5 separate regions of the Homo sapiens genome follow, and regions 2, 3, 4 and 5 are each linked to region 1. Evidence: promoter capture Hi-C in 16 types of primary human blood cells and fetal thymus (Javierre and others, 2016). All regions are on one chromosome and are shown on one strand. The core of a region is centred on a gene start or on the middle of the fragment in contact, and the rest is flanking DNA. Distances in the headings are between cores, read along the strand shown. Region 1 holds the start of FAM83A-AS1 (FAM83A antisense RNA 1). Region 2 overlaps ANXA13 (annexin A13). Region 3 overlaps LOC105375739 (a long non-coding RNA gene). Region 4 has its middle 36 kb from the start of LINC01151. Region 5 overlaps LINC01151 (long intergenic non-protein coding RNA 1151).

Region 1 (2,803 bases), core at 278-2,777:
GGCATCATCCTCCTAATTGACAGAAGTGGGGTGGGGGATTTAGGCACAGAGAGGGGAGGCAACTGATCCAGGGTCACCAGCTTCCTTGACTAGGGTCACCAGCTCTCCAATCCCTGTGAAGCTGAGGGCTGGGCTTGTTAGCCTGATGTGCAGCCCAGGAGGAAGGCTGCCACAGCCGGAATACATGCAGGGCCGTCTGTGTTTACTGTCATTCCTGAGAGCTGTGGAGGAGCCAGCTCCTGGAGGGAGAACAGGACACCAACAGTGATTTTGCCCTTGACATTCAAAGGTGACCTGCTTACTAGCCTTTCAGGGGATCATCTTCACTGGGACCAGTCTCCCCTTAGAGTTGTTTCCAGTAAAAACAAAAACAAACAAAGAAAAAAAACCAGAAGAGGCCATTTATCCCTTTCTTTTAGCCCCGCTACCTGGGGGCTTCAGATATTTTGGCCCCTTCTTCTGGTTGTATATGGTTCTCCCAAACTGAAGAGCCCTGCTTCCTCCGCTGAGGCTAGAGGGCTGAGGTTGTGCATTTCAACACTGAAGGGCTGGTTGAGGGTCTGACCCCAGCATAGGTGCCATGCCAGGGCCATCAAGAAAAATTGCTGAGTGGCCAGAGTGGATTGGTGTGTGTGCTCTGAGATCAGCAGGAGCTAAGGAAGTGCTCTGGGGTCAGCTGAGAGGGAGCCACCACTTCTGCCTAGCAGGTCCAGGAGGTCGGTGCCATTGGCTGGAGTTGGGCCTTGAAGGATGAGAATTATTCAGCCCTGGTGGGGAAGAGGCAGGCAAAATTGGGCATTGGGAACAGGATGGGGAACAACAGCAAGACATCATCCTGGCTTCTAATTGGCCTCCTGCCCCGCCCCCACTGCCATCCATGGGTTTTCTCTCCCAGGAACAGAAACACAAACCAGATCAAACCACTTTAAAATCCTTCAGTACTCGCCACTGCTCCTAGGAACAACAACAACAACAAAAATCTACATCCTTACCAGGGCCTCTATCTCAGTAGGATCCCCCCACTCCTCCACTGTGTTGGAGCCACACTGGCCGCTTCCTCAGTCTTTCATGCTCTTTCGAGTCGCAGGGCCTTTGCACTTGCTGTTCATGCCCTCCGTCGGAGAGCTCATTCCTGCTGTCTCTATCTTGCTTACTCTTTATCTTGTAGGTGGCAGCTTCCAGATCATTGCCTCAGAGACCTCTGATCACCACCCCGAGCCCTCTTATCCTCTATGGCTTCACTCCCATCATGATTTGGAATTATTTATTTGTGAACTTGATTAGCCGAGATTGTAAATGACATGAGGTCAGGGACTGGACTGGGTATGTTTTCTTCTCTGTTGCTTTCCTGGCATGAAGTACAGTAAATACAGCACCTGATACATTATACATGGCCACAAATATTTGTTGAATGAATGAATAAAAGCACATTGGGTTCTGACCATTCAGTGTCCTGAAAGAATGCAGTTTTTCAAACTGTGCCTCACCATCCATTAGCGGGGTGTGAAATCAATTTAGTAGATGATGTCTAGCATTTTTTTTAAATGACACGGAATAGAATAAAAATAATCAGACCACGCTGAGGTAAAGGATGTTCTGGAAATTATTGTGTGGTTATGTACTTGTGGGTCATGATGTTAAATGTGCTTTTCCAAGAATAGCCAAGATAAATCCGAAAAAGAAAAACAAGCAGGGACGACTTGCCCTACCAGAGTTCAGAACTTGTCATGAAACTGCAGTAATCAAGACAATGTGTCATTGGAGGAGGGACAAATTGACACACAGAACAGAAAGCTCAGGCACATATTCACACACCACAGGGCATGACAGAGCAGTGGGGAAAGGAGGAACTGGAAAAAATAACTCCCCGTATGTAAAATGGGATTACTACCCACCATGCACGCATTTGTTTACAAATCGACTTGCAATAGTTGAAAAGAATTTGAATGTTGAAAATAAACTAAAACTCTCAGTAGATTTCTTTAAAAGGAAAACATACACACATTAAAAAAAAAAAAGCAGTGACCATAAAAGTTTGCTTAATCTGACTATATTACAATTAAGAATGTTGGTTCATTGAAAGACATCTTGGCTGGGTGCGGTGGTTCACATCTGTAATCCCAGCACCTTGGGAGGCAGAGGAAGGTGGATCACCTGAGGTCAAGAGTTCAAGACCAGCCTGGCCAACATGGTAAAATCCTGTCTCTACTAAAAATACAAAAATTAGCCGAGTGTGGTGGCACGTGCCTGTAGTCCCAACTACTCGGGAGGCTGAGGTGGGAGGATCACTTGAATCCAGGAGGCAGAGGTTGCAGTGAGCTGAGATCAAGCCACTGCACTCCAGCCTGGGGGACAGAATGAGATCTGTCTCAAAAAAAAAAAAAAAAAAAAAAGTAAGAAAAGAAAAGAAAAAAAGAAAGACATCTTAAAGGAAGTGAAAAGTCAGTTACAAACTGGAAGCAGCTATTCAAGATGCACACCCCTGACAGAGATTAGTGCTGAGACTCACAAGAGCACAAGAGCACAGCAGAAAAGTGGGTGGGAGACATAAGCAGGCGTTTCACCAAAGAGGCAACATATGGTTAAAAAAACAAAACAAAAAATTAGCCAGCATTGTTGTAACCCCAGTTACTTAGGAGGCTGAGGCAGAAGAAGCGCTTGAACCCAGGAGGCAGAGGTTGCAGTGAGCCGAGATCACGCCACTGCACTCCAGCCTGGGCAACAAGAGTGAAACTCCAACTCAAAAAAAAAAAAAAAAAGGACAAAAAAAAATTCTATAATTATGGAAAAAGGAAAGCAAGGG
Region 2 (2,700 bases), core at 5-2,504, 520 kb after region 1:
AGAATCTTCTTCCTTTGTATGTTACAGAATACACTGAATGCCTTTTCTTTGCGTCCTGGTCTTGCTCCCAGTTTGTATTAATGTCAGAGTCAGTGGCAGTAGTAGGGACAGAAGAATGGAACAGGAAACTTATCTGGATAGAAATCTTGAGCTGAGAATAGTGTCAAGCTTTCCAAAATGATGAAGCAGAGAGAATGAAAAGAGGAACAGTAAATTTAACCAAGGTGTCTGGGAGGGCTCAATCAGACCTCAGTTGGAGAAATAACAGGAATCACAAATGAAAGTGAAGTCCTAAGACCTTCGGGTGTGAAACAGTTTGAGCTAAATAGAGTTTGGGGCTCTTAGAATTTAATACCAAATGGAGAAAATAATGGACTCTGAGGAAAGTGACCTTGCCAAGATATAGATTAGTAGCCTTTCAACCCGGATTGCACTCAAAATCATTTGGGATCCCAGTCTGATCCTATGAAATCAGAATCTCTGAGGTACAGGGATATATCAGGTATAAATATTTCTAAAACTCCCCAGACAATTCTAACAAGCAGCCAGGGTTGAGAACCGTTAGTCTGAGAAAAATTAGAAACTTCCGCTGTTGATATCCCGGTAAAGGAGGAAGACAACTTAGAAATGTGCTGAAGGTTTACACAAGAAAGAAATCCTTGACCTTATCCAAGATGCTAAAGATAAAGGGAAGAGGTTTAGCATGAAATCTTAAAGTGAAAATTGAACCCAGGTTTTTCCAAATGGGTGACATGGAACACTGAAAGCATTAAAGCCATTGGACCTCCAGCTAGGAAAGGAACTCCTTTTAAAATTCTCTCCCAACTCTTCTGATTAAGTCTTTGCTTAGTGATAGTGGATCTTTCACACTCGTCTAATCCAGGGGTTGGCAAACTGCAGACTGAGGACCATATCTGGCCCATTACTTATTTTTGTAAATAAAGTTTTATTGGAACACAGCCAACCCATTCATTTACATTTGGCCTATGGCTTCTTTCACGCTACAATGGCAGAGTAGTTACCTACTTGCACCAGAGGTTCTGTGGCCCACAAAGCCTCATTATTTACTTTGTGGACTCCCACTGTATCCCATGTGGACCATGTAAACAGGTCCTTTTTTAGTCAGAGGATAGGACCTTACCCTTCAGCTGGCAACATCAAATTTAGTTAGAATTTAATACATTCTTTTTGCTTTCATTTAGTTATCTATATTTATGTCAACTGACATTAATTTTCCATTTATGGTATCAGTATAAAATTTCCTTTTAAGATTAATTTATATTAAAAAGTGCGTATTTAAAAATAATTAATAGAATAATTAGTAGAAGAGGTAACCCATATATTTGGCAACAATCATGAAGGTTGTACTTAAATCTGAAGTTTGGGAGACATTGAATGTATCCAATCCCATCATTTACAAATAAAGAAACTGAAGCCTGGTTGTTAAGTCACCTGCTCAGGGTCACCTTATGGAAACATCCATCTCCTATCTCTCTCAGAACAATGTTCTTTTACCTCTAACCGGTTACTCATTTGCACTTTGAAGCCAGTTAGTATGAATGCAAATTATTGTACTTTTAACATTCATGAATTCAGAGCCAGAAAATATCCTGGTGACATTTCCACAGACATGGTTAGTAGAGATTGATGAGCAATTTGAAACAAAATAGAGGGGCCATTCACATCTGAAGCATGAATCTTGGGTGATTAGTGACATATTGGTTTCATTAAGTCATAAAACTACCCAACAGAAAAAAATATATTTGGCAGTATACCCTGTTGGGTATATTTAAGCACAGTTTGAATACGAATATTTGGTATTTCATCATGTAGTTATTGCTGTTTTCATTAGGATTCTCCAGGATCTCACACCGACTAAAAGCAAGCCAATTCCTTCATGCCTAGAACCTCTTCCCACATTAGAAGTTTATTAATCTGCGGGGGTTGATCAGAGAGCTGTTGGGAAAGTGTGTTAGGAAACTTGAGCTCTGCCCACCTTAGTAGGGTGCTGGAATGTTACAGAGTTGTTCATTGCTGTTGATACCTCCTTTCCAAGATGCAGTATTACAGTGACTTACATGATGACTAAGTGTTTGGCTATCACTCTAAAGGGGCAGAAATATTTGTATCATTTAACAACTAAAACTAAAACTAGAAAAACATCCATTTGGATCACAGCTCAACATGATTTGCTTGCATATGTTGACTGTATGTTCTGAAAAATGAGTTCAGTTCTTTAGATTAAAACATGACCTTTCTATTACATTTGGGATTGCTTCCATGTTGGCATTTCAGCACCTTTTAATGAAGATTGGTATAGTTAGGTCATTTTCCAGAAAGACAAGCTTCCTTAGGCTATGCCATCTGGGTTACACGTGTTGATGTGATATTTACTTATCAAAGGTGACTGCAGGGCTGGGTAGGAGTTAGGAGACCTGACTTGAAGGCCCTTCAATATGCTGTGCCTTAAACTGGTGGGCACCATTGTACCTGAAGGTACTGATGGTATCCTCAGGAGTGTAAACAATGTGGGCATCCTGCCATGCACTGAGCTGTGGTATAGGGAGTCCAAGTGGGGTAGCCCTTTTGGGGGCTACACCCAAACAGAGGAGAGGTGAGCCAATCAGCTCCTGAAGGTTCCAGCCTGTGTCTTTCCAGGGGAGCACTGCTCATCTAGGCAGGAAATCCAGCAGCCCAGCA
Region 3 (2,700 bases), core at 53-2,552, 560 kb after region 1:
GGACATAGCCAAATGTCCCCTGGGGACAAAACTGCCCCCAGTTGAGAACTACTGGTTTAGGGAGTCTGAAGTGTCTTAGTGAAGAGTCCATTAACAATCATCAGCATGATGCAATGGTGTGACCAATTTGCTCTGGTATGTTACCTTGTGTATTCTCTCACAGTACCATGTCATTATCTGTTAATAGCAGGTGTGCTTAGCTTCTCATATCAGCAATAAATATATGGTACCAGCTTGTACCAGCTATTGGTTTTCCATGCAATGTGTGGTGAATCTTTAACTTTATGGCTTACTTATCAATGGAACAATAAGCTTCTGATTTCCCTTGAATCCAGTGGCCACACACGGAGCAAGAAACTCTAAAGGTCCTCAATCTCTTTAAATATTTAAGCCAGCCCACATTTCTTTCCCTGACTTGGTGTTTTGTCACATTTGGAATTTTTTTTCGTTCTATGTAAACATAGGACAGATTATAAACTTAGCACACTCTCCATATTTAAATATGTTCATCAGGATTTTAAAGACAAGAATTAAAACAATGATCATGATATAATAATATATCATAAAACACTGAAGAGCTAAAAAATAAAAGGATAAATTATCACGTAGGTGGGGCTTTCTGGTCATTGACACGAGTCTAGCAAGAATGTCGCTTTATTCTTTTTATTTTAGTGTACCTTTTTCTTCCCTTACATTGCCCATATAGTCTCTGGAAGCCAAAACACCTTTTCCTCCAGTCCCTTCAGATCTATCCCGTGTTAAAACCCAGCATAAAAGCCACCTCTTTCATAATTGCTTCTAGAGGCCTTAATGAGAAGCTTCCTTTCCTTCTACTAGCATCTTGTACCAATCATTACTTTCTACTTTATATTCCACTGGGTTATAGACCTGGATTCTCAAGCCTACTAGACTGTAAATTATTTAAGGGTAAAGATCATGCCTTGTTCATCTCTGTGTCCCCAAATGCTTAATGTAGCACCTTGCACATAGAAATAGTTCAGTCCTGAAATAAGGTATCCTTTTGTTAAATTAATCCTTCTCAGATTAATTTCAGATTTCTAGAATCACAAAATCAATATTTGGCAGCAAGGCATAATCAGTTACAAACACTATTTTGTTGTTGGACTCTGAGAATCAGGGTTATGGGGGGATCTCAGTGTCAACCTCTCCATCCTCTTCCCTTATTTACAGAGTAAGAGATTTTCCCCTGGGATTTTTCTTTAGCCCTAAATATTTAACTGCTTTCTGTCTCTTTCACACTTGAGAATTAATCACAATCTTTGGTATTCACTTCAGTGGTGGAGTCCATGAAGCAATCTTTAGCCCTATACTCTTTGTAGCCTGGGTCAGAATTATCTGCCTAAAATAATCCCACCAAAACTTTGATTCTTTAAAAGATTCACAGTTCCCATCAGAGATAGGCTCTTCAGTAAGTCATAGTTTTGGTCCTCTTGGTTATTTCTCTTTCTGAGTGATCCGTGAAAGCCTGCTTTCCTTCACCTCATGACAGGCTCTGCTGTGTGACAGCCAGGGATGCTAATGTGTGGATACTGATGCTATCTTAGCAGGCAGACAGCGAGGGATTATCACTCCAGTTCAGTCTTGCTCCTTATCTCCCATGTGCGGAAAATAGGTCTTGCTTCAGACTAAAGCTGGTAGTTGTTTTGGGTTGAAAATGTTCATATGTGACTAATCATATACACAAAGAAAATGTGGCTGCTTTATTTCCTGAAGTGGACCTAATCATTCTTACACTGTCATTCCACTGGCTAGTGGTGGCAGTCGGGGAAGCTTAAATCTATCAATTGAAAGGCTCTTATTTGGCCTCTTTCTGTTTAAATATAGTCATCTCACTGGGAGTATGGTTTCTACTGGAGATGCTCTCTCTTGAAGATTTCAACTTCCTCCCCTGTTTCCCCCCAAGATATGCCAATGGGAGCTAAAAGAATTCAGAAAACCCTTTCTCAACAAAGCCTGGCTTTTAAGCCTACTGTCTTGCTCAGACTCAAAAATCCTAGTTTCTATTTCAAAAGCTGAACTTTGACTTTGTCTTGGGCTTTCTTTGTAATAATCCTTATTTTCTCAAAGGCAAATAGATGTCTCTGGCTTCTTGATTAATCTTTTTCTGACTTTTGTTTTCCTGGGCCTACTTTTACCAGGTACACAGTTCAGCTAGCTTTCTATATCCCTAAAAAAAAGAAAAGAGAAATAAAATATTATCCATTAAGGCTATATCATTTCTAAAAACATGTGGTAATTAATGACTTTATTAAATCTAAAAGAAAGAGAAGTCAACATTTCTGTTCTTCAGAGAGAAGAAATGCTTACGTAGACCTGGCCAAGAAATAGCCAATTTATGTTTTTCCAGGATTAGTTGTAGTTGTAGCCAAGAAAGTGTCCTATCTCTCACTCACATCTTGTTTATAGAGGTCACGAAACAATCCTACTATACTTGAACTTAATCCCTAATCACAGTTTACACTAGTAGACAAATTTGTATTTCTTGTTAGACAGTTAAGAGATTACGTGTTGCTAAAGGTGTAAAGTTTGAATGGTGTAATGTAGAAGGAAACAAAAACAATTTCATTTTAGCCAAGTTCCAAGGCATTGTAACAATATACCCAAATAAGCTAAAAAGATCCAAGTTGGCCCGGTGCCATCTGTGTAACACATACTCAGATAATTTCCATATTGGTCCAA
Region 4 (2,700 bases), core at 175-2,674, 540 kb before region 1:
CAGCTAATGCTATTACAGACCCCCTACTAGCAAAGGGACTGATTGGGTTTCAAAATAATGAAAGCCACGTAGCAATGTTGAAGTATCAAAAGCAAAGTTGTCACAATTACTGTAATGAGTGACAAGGTTAAAATGTCAGCCATGGGCCAGGCATGGTGGCTGACACCTGTAATCCCAGCACTTTGGGAGGCAGAGGCAGGCAGATCACGAAGTCAAGAGATTGAGACCATCCTGGCCAACATGGTGAAACCCCATCTCTACTAAAAATACAAAAATTACCTGGGCGTGGTGGCATGCACCCATAGTCCCAGCTACTCAGGAGGCTGAGGCAGGAGAATCTCTTGAACCCCGGAGGTGGAGATTGCAGTGAGCTGAGATCATGCTGCTGCACTCCAGCCTGGCTACAGAGCAAGACTCCATCTCAAAAAAAAAAAAATGTCAGCCAAGGGCCTGATACACAAAGTTCTAGAGGTATTTGGAGTGAGAAAAAAAAATGTGTGTAGCGTTTATGAGAAGATCAAATAAGAAAAATTACTGCATGAAAACTCTAGTGTTCTATGGCAGTGGTCCCCAACCTTTTTAGCACCAGGGACCAGTTTTGTGGAATACAATTTTTCCATGAACAGGGACAGGGAATGGGGGAGGAGTGGGTATGGTTTCGAGATGAGACTGTTCCACCTCAGATCATCAGGCATTAGATTCTCATAAGGAGTGTGCCACTTAGATCCTCACATGTGCAGTTCACAATAGGGTTCATGCTCCTATGAGAGCCTAATGCTGCCACTGATCTGACAGGAGGCAGAGCTCAGGTGGTAATGCTCACTCGCCCGCCACTCACCTCCTGCTGGGCAACCCAGTTCCTAACAGGCCATAGACTGGTACGGGTCCAAGGCCCAGGGGTTGGCAACCCCTATTCTATGGCAATTCCAGGCTATTCACAGCAAAGAACAACACACCATGCAAAAAAAGTCCCTCACATGCTAGTAAAGATGGAGCCTATAACCATGGACATCAAATGATCATGCAGCCATTATGAGCTGGGTTCCCATCGTGAGCTGGATTCCCATTATGAGCTGGATTCCCATCATGAGCTGGGTTCTACCACACCCAAGAAGTCATAAGCCAAGGCAACCCTGCAGCAATCCACTGCCACATGGAGGCAGCACATCCATAATCAGGCACTGACAGGGTCAGAGGGCATAAATAAGCCACACAAGCAGGTGGCCCAGTCCTCAGCTACACAAAGGTGCATTAATAAATGGACTATAGCTGTGGGCAACTGGGGCTCAAGCTTCCTGGGTATCCCCCAAAAGCCTCTATAGAATACACCTCAGAAAGTTTTCATCAGGGGTAAAGAAACTGGGGTATTTATCCACCAATTGCCTGCTTTCTTTGTTTGAAGATTTCTCCCAGGAGTTAACTCCCTGGCACTTCAGATCTCTTCCCCAATCCCAATACATGGGCTGAGCATGATGTTTCCACCAGAGAACACTCTCAGGCAGCGAGACAAAGATGCCTGAGTTAGAATTCCCTTGGCCTGGATGAAAACTGTCCACCAAAGCTTCTGGTGACCTCCTTGGTGGATGAATGCTGATAACCAAAAAAAAAAAAAAAAAAAAAAAAAAAAACCTCTGTAAAATATTGAAGGAGGTTTATTCTGACCATGGCCTGGGAAACAGTCTCAAGAAAGCTTGAGAAAGTGTACCCAAGGTGACTGAATTACAGTTTAGTTTTATACATTTTAGGAAAACAGAAGTTACAGGCAAAGACATAAATCAATACATGTAAGGTATACATTGATTTAGGCTGGAAAGGCAGAACATCTCAAAGACGGGGCTTTCAGGTCATAAGTGGGAGATAGATAGATGATAGATAGATATCTCCCATATAATATACATATATCTCTCTCTGCTGTTTTTTTTCATATGGATATATGTGAAGAGAGGGAAAGATTTTTAAATCAAGTAGCAATAGGATATTACAGTCCATAAAAGGTAAAATTTGCCAGTGTATACACTCTCAAAATTTTGTCAAGATCGCCTCCTCACAAATATTAAAGGGGCACTTAACAAATATCAGTAGGGCAGCATTTCTTCTTATTTACCCAACATAAATAGCACTTGCTCTTGCTACTGAGCAATCAGCTTGTTAAAAGATTGTATCATAGCAACATTCAGCCAGAGAACTTTCCAGAGCGTTGAGACATCCTTCTGGGTGGCTACAGTTGTCCTAGCAGCAAGATGGAACAGAATAAAAACTCCCAGCTGAGTGATTAGTGTACTGGGCCTTAGAGACCCAAATCTGCCACAAACTGGATGCATGACCAAGTAGTTTGGACTATATCCATTCCTTCATTTATTTAACAGATATTTACTGAGCATCTCCTAGGTGTCCAGGCTCAGAGCCACTGTGCAGGGGACAATCTCCAAAGTCTTTTTCAAGTCTAACTGGAGACTCAGAAAGGCACATTTGTAGAGATATGGAAACATTTATCAAAATCAGCATCTCCCAACATAGCCAAACCCTTGATCCTCTTGTAAATGACCCCCTTGCACATCATCCTTCTTTGTAAAAAGATAGCAGTTGTTCTGAGTCCTCTTCTTGCCCACGGAGAAGAGTTCACAACGGAAATGGGAAAGGATGGAAGTGCGTTTGTCTGGGGCCGCTGAGTCAGCCAGACTCCTCCCAGCTCCTAGTCCA
Region 5 (2,700 bases), core at 80-2,579, 520 kb before region 1:
ATTATTTATATTGATTACATGCAGAAATGACGTTTTAGATATCTTAGCTTAAATAGAATATATTATTAAACTCAATTTCACCAGTGTCTTTTTTCTTTGTTTAATGTGGCTACTAGAAAATGTTTAATTAATGTATAGTTTACATTACATTTCTATTGGACGGCACTGTTCTAGGCCATTTCCCAGTTGTCCTTTGCATTGGGAAATGGGCCAGAAATTTTGCTGCTTCTGGCAGGCTGCCCTCCTAGAATGAACAGGATGGTATCCTCAACAGAAACTGCTCAGCTTTCTGAGGCTCGGGAGATGAAAGGAGAGAGAAAGGAGGCGCATTGGCAGGAAGAGCTGGGCCTGACTTCCTTGGAAAAGCCAGCCCTGGTGCCAGTCAGTGCCCCACCCACCCTGGGATCCCTGTGGGCCCACAATGGGCCCTCTCTTGGTAATCCAGGGATGATAAACACATGGTGCAGGCTCTCCAGGGACACATGGCTCACAGAGGGATACATGCAGAGGCAGGATGTGCAGAAGCAGCTATTATAATTCACCAGAGAAGGCCGGGAGTTCTCCAAAGTTGAGGTGGCACTGAACAAGATTGGCAGGGATTCAGACCTCTCTCCAGCTGGCCTCTGTAGTGGCTCTGCAGAGTCTAGTGGTGACTGAATCTACTGCTAAGCCAGATGCATAAACCTGGGCATCAGAACCCCTCTCTGAGCCTTGGTTTCCACCCATAAAATGAGAGGGTTTACAGCCTCTATTTTAAAATGCGGTAACTCAACACAACTGCCTTTTTCTCTACGTAGCATTGGCAGAGTCATGGGGCTCCAATCAGGCCCAAGGCCAGGCCTTTATTTTTCTCCTAGAGAGCTCACTCAGAAGTTCATTTCCATGCCCCGTGCCCAAGGCCAGGTCTCCTTGAAATGCAGCCAAAAGCTCATTAAATGTACACAGAAGGGAGAGCCACTGGGACGTGAGGGCCTGCTCTGCTCAGCATGACCAGCGCCGGGTGTGTAGCTTTCTGTGACCCATCTCCTCCGGCTGCATTTTCCCCACCTCTGGGGAGCACCTCTGTTCCAGAAGGCTCTGAGTTGGAAACACACAGGATGAATTTGGGCACATGTCCTCAGTCACAAATGCCAACAGAATTGGAATATCCAGCAAAGTGCTTTCCAGCCTCCTGGTGCCCAGAGACCTGGGAAGCCAGAGAGTGGAGAGTCCAGGGTAGGAGGTAGAAAGAGCTGTGCAGTGGAAACCCAGAAACCCAGCTCCAACCCTGACTCAGCCAACCGCTAACTCAGTGCCGTGGACAAAAGAATAATATCAACGTGCTCATGTGCATGTGTGTGCATGTGTGTGCGTGTGTGTGCATGTGTGTGCGTGTGGGCATGTGTGCATATGCATGTGTGTGTGTTTGCATGTGTGTGTGCATGTGCGTGTTTGTGTGTGTGTGCGTGTATGTGTGTGTCCCCATGTGCCGGGCCCAGAAAGGAAATATCACTGTGAGTAAAGAAAGAAGCCCTTGTCCTTCTGAGGCTTCCACTCAATTATAAGACAAGATGCACAAAAGTAGTGTAGATAAAGTGCAATGGCAAAAAGTAGATGACAACTTTACCTCCAACTACAGGGACTGGGACTGATTTCCTGGCAAGGAGGCATTTGGGAGAACAAACAAGTGCGAAGTGCCCAGGAGGAGAGGCCAAGGAGGTTTAAAGGCGTGTTCTCAGAACACCAAGTTTAGTTGACGTCTACCTCCTCTCAGCAACTTTCTACAACAGTGAGTTGACTCCTCCCTATTCTCTGAGACATAAAGCTCATTCCAAACGGTTCAAGGCTTGACTGTTCATACTTATTGTTGTTGCATTTATATTACCATCAAGAGCATTTGTGATGATCTGCTACCAGGGTGCTTAGTGCGTGTCTTGTCTCTCTAATAGCACAGTCAGGGAATAGGTCCAATGCTTTCTCTTATTCCCTGCCAGCCTGCCGTGCAATCTCTGGGTTGGAAGGAACCCTGGAAATCATGCTATCCAGTTCCCCATCTTCTCTTTCCCGGAGGCCTCTGCAAGACTGACAGGCATACCGTCTGCCTCTTTATTCTGTGTTTGTGCAAAACAGTGTGTTAAAACAGGTTCTGTTTTAGTATCAGCCGAGGCTCCAAGACACCAAGAGTGACTGCACCCCATTTCTAAGGAAAAGTGAAAGACCACAAAGACTTACACAGGAGGTAGTCAGAAACGGGTTTTAGGGCCCCAATCTATCCACCACCCGAACTTTAAAGAATTTGGAGGCCGGGCGCGGTGGCTCACACCTGTAATCCCAGCACTTTGGGAGGCCCAGGCGGGTGGATCACAAGGTCAGGAGATCGAGACCATCCTGGCTAACACAGTGAAACCCTGTCTCTACTAAAAAAAAAATTACAAAAAAATTAGCCGGGCGTGGTGGCGGGTGTCTGTCGTCCCAGCTACTCGGGAGGCTGAGGCAGGAGAATGGCGTGAACCCGGGAGGCGGAGCTTGCAGGGAGCCGAGATCGCACCACTGCACTCCAGACCCGGTGACAGAGCGACACTCCTTCTGAAAAAAAAAAAAAAAAAAAAAAGAATTTGGAGCTGGGCTGGGATTAGACAAGAATTTGGGGAGATAGCTGCCAATCCTTACACTCCCCACCCTTCTGGGGAGAGGCTGTTTCTAACCACCTCAAGCCTAGGT

The links. The method cuts DNA at HindIII sites, captures the fragments that hold promoters and counts their contacts. A CHiCAGO score of 5 or more calls a contact.
Region 2: a contact is called between a fragment that was not itself captured here and the fragment with the promoter of FAM83A-AS1 in region 1, in 1 of 17 cell types (total CD4 T cells). The highest score is 6.2, in total CD4 T cells.
Region 3: a contact is called between a fragment that was not itself captured here and the fragment with the promoter of FAM83A-AS1 in region 1, in 7 of 17 cell types (total CD4 T cells, non-activated CD4 T cells, naive CD8 T cells and 4 more). The highest score is 6.8, in total CD4 T cells.
Region 4: a fragment that was not itself captured here is called in contact with the fragment with the promoter of FAM83A-AS1 in region 1 in 5 of 17 cell types (fetal thymus, naive B cells, total B cells and 2 more); the score reaches 7.3 in fetal thymus.
Region 5: a fragment that was not itself captured here is called in contact with the fragment with the promoter of FAM83A-AS1 in region 1 in 12 of 17 cell types (naive CD4 T cells, total CD4 T cells, total CD8 T cells and 9 more); the score reaches 12.9 in naive CD4 T cells.

What each region holds. Positions count from the first base shown.
Region 1 is chr8:123,201,216-123,204,018 of GRCh38, forward strand. It overlaps FAM83A-AS1 (FAM83A antisense RNA 1), which reads right to left and starts at 1,528. Exons shown (of 3, transcript NR_024479.1): 1 at 993-1,528; 2 at 429-767; 3 at 1-239. The region is part of intron 3 of FAM83A (family with sequence similarity 83 member A); the gene reads left to right. The HindIII fragment of the contact is 13,090 bases long and covers 1-2,803 here.
Region 2 is chr8:123,723,919-123,726,618 of GRCh38, forward strand. The region is part of intron 1 of ANXA13 (annexin A13); the gene reads right to left. All of the region lies in intron 1 of LOC105375739 (a long non-coding RNA gene), which reads left to right. Among named protein-coding and RNA genes, the nearest start is that of ANXA13, 12 kb to the right of the region's middle. The HindIII fragment of the contact is 2,177 bases long and covers 167-2,343 here.
Region 3 is chr8:123,759,326-123,762,025 of GRCh38, forward strand. The region is part of intron 1 of LOC105375739 (a long non-coding RNA gene); the gene reads left to right. Among named protein-coding and RNA genes, the nearest start is that of FAM91A1, 7.8 kb to the right of the region's middle. The HindIII fragment of the contact is 973 bases long and covers 817-1,789 here.
Region 4 is chr8:122,656,556-122,659,255 of GRCh38, forward strand. No RefSeq gene overlaps it. Among named protein-coding and RNA genes, the nearest start is that of LINC01151, 36 kb to the right of the region's middle. The HindIII fragment of the contact is 270 bases long and covers 1,290-1,559 here.
Region 5 is chr8:122,680,463-122,683,162 of GRCh38, forward strand. All of the region lies in intron 2 of LINC01151 (long intergenic non-protein coding RNA 1151), which reads right to left. Among named protein-coding and RNA genes, the nearest start is that of LINC01151, 12 kb to the right of the region's middle. The HindIII fragment of the contact is 4,320 bases long and covers 1-2,700 here.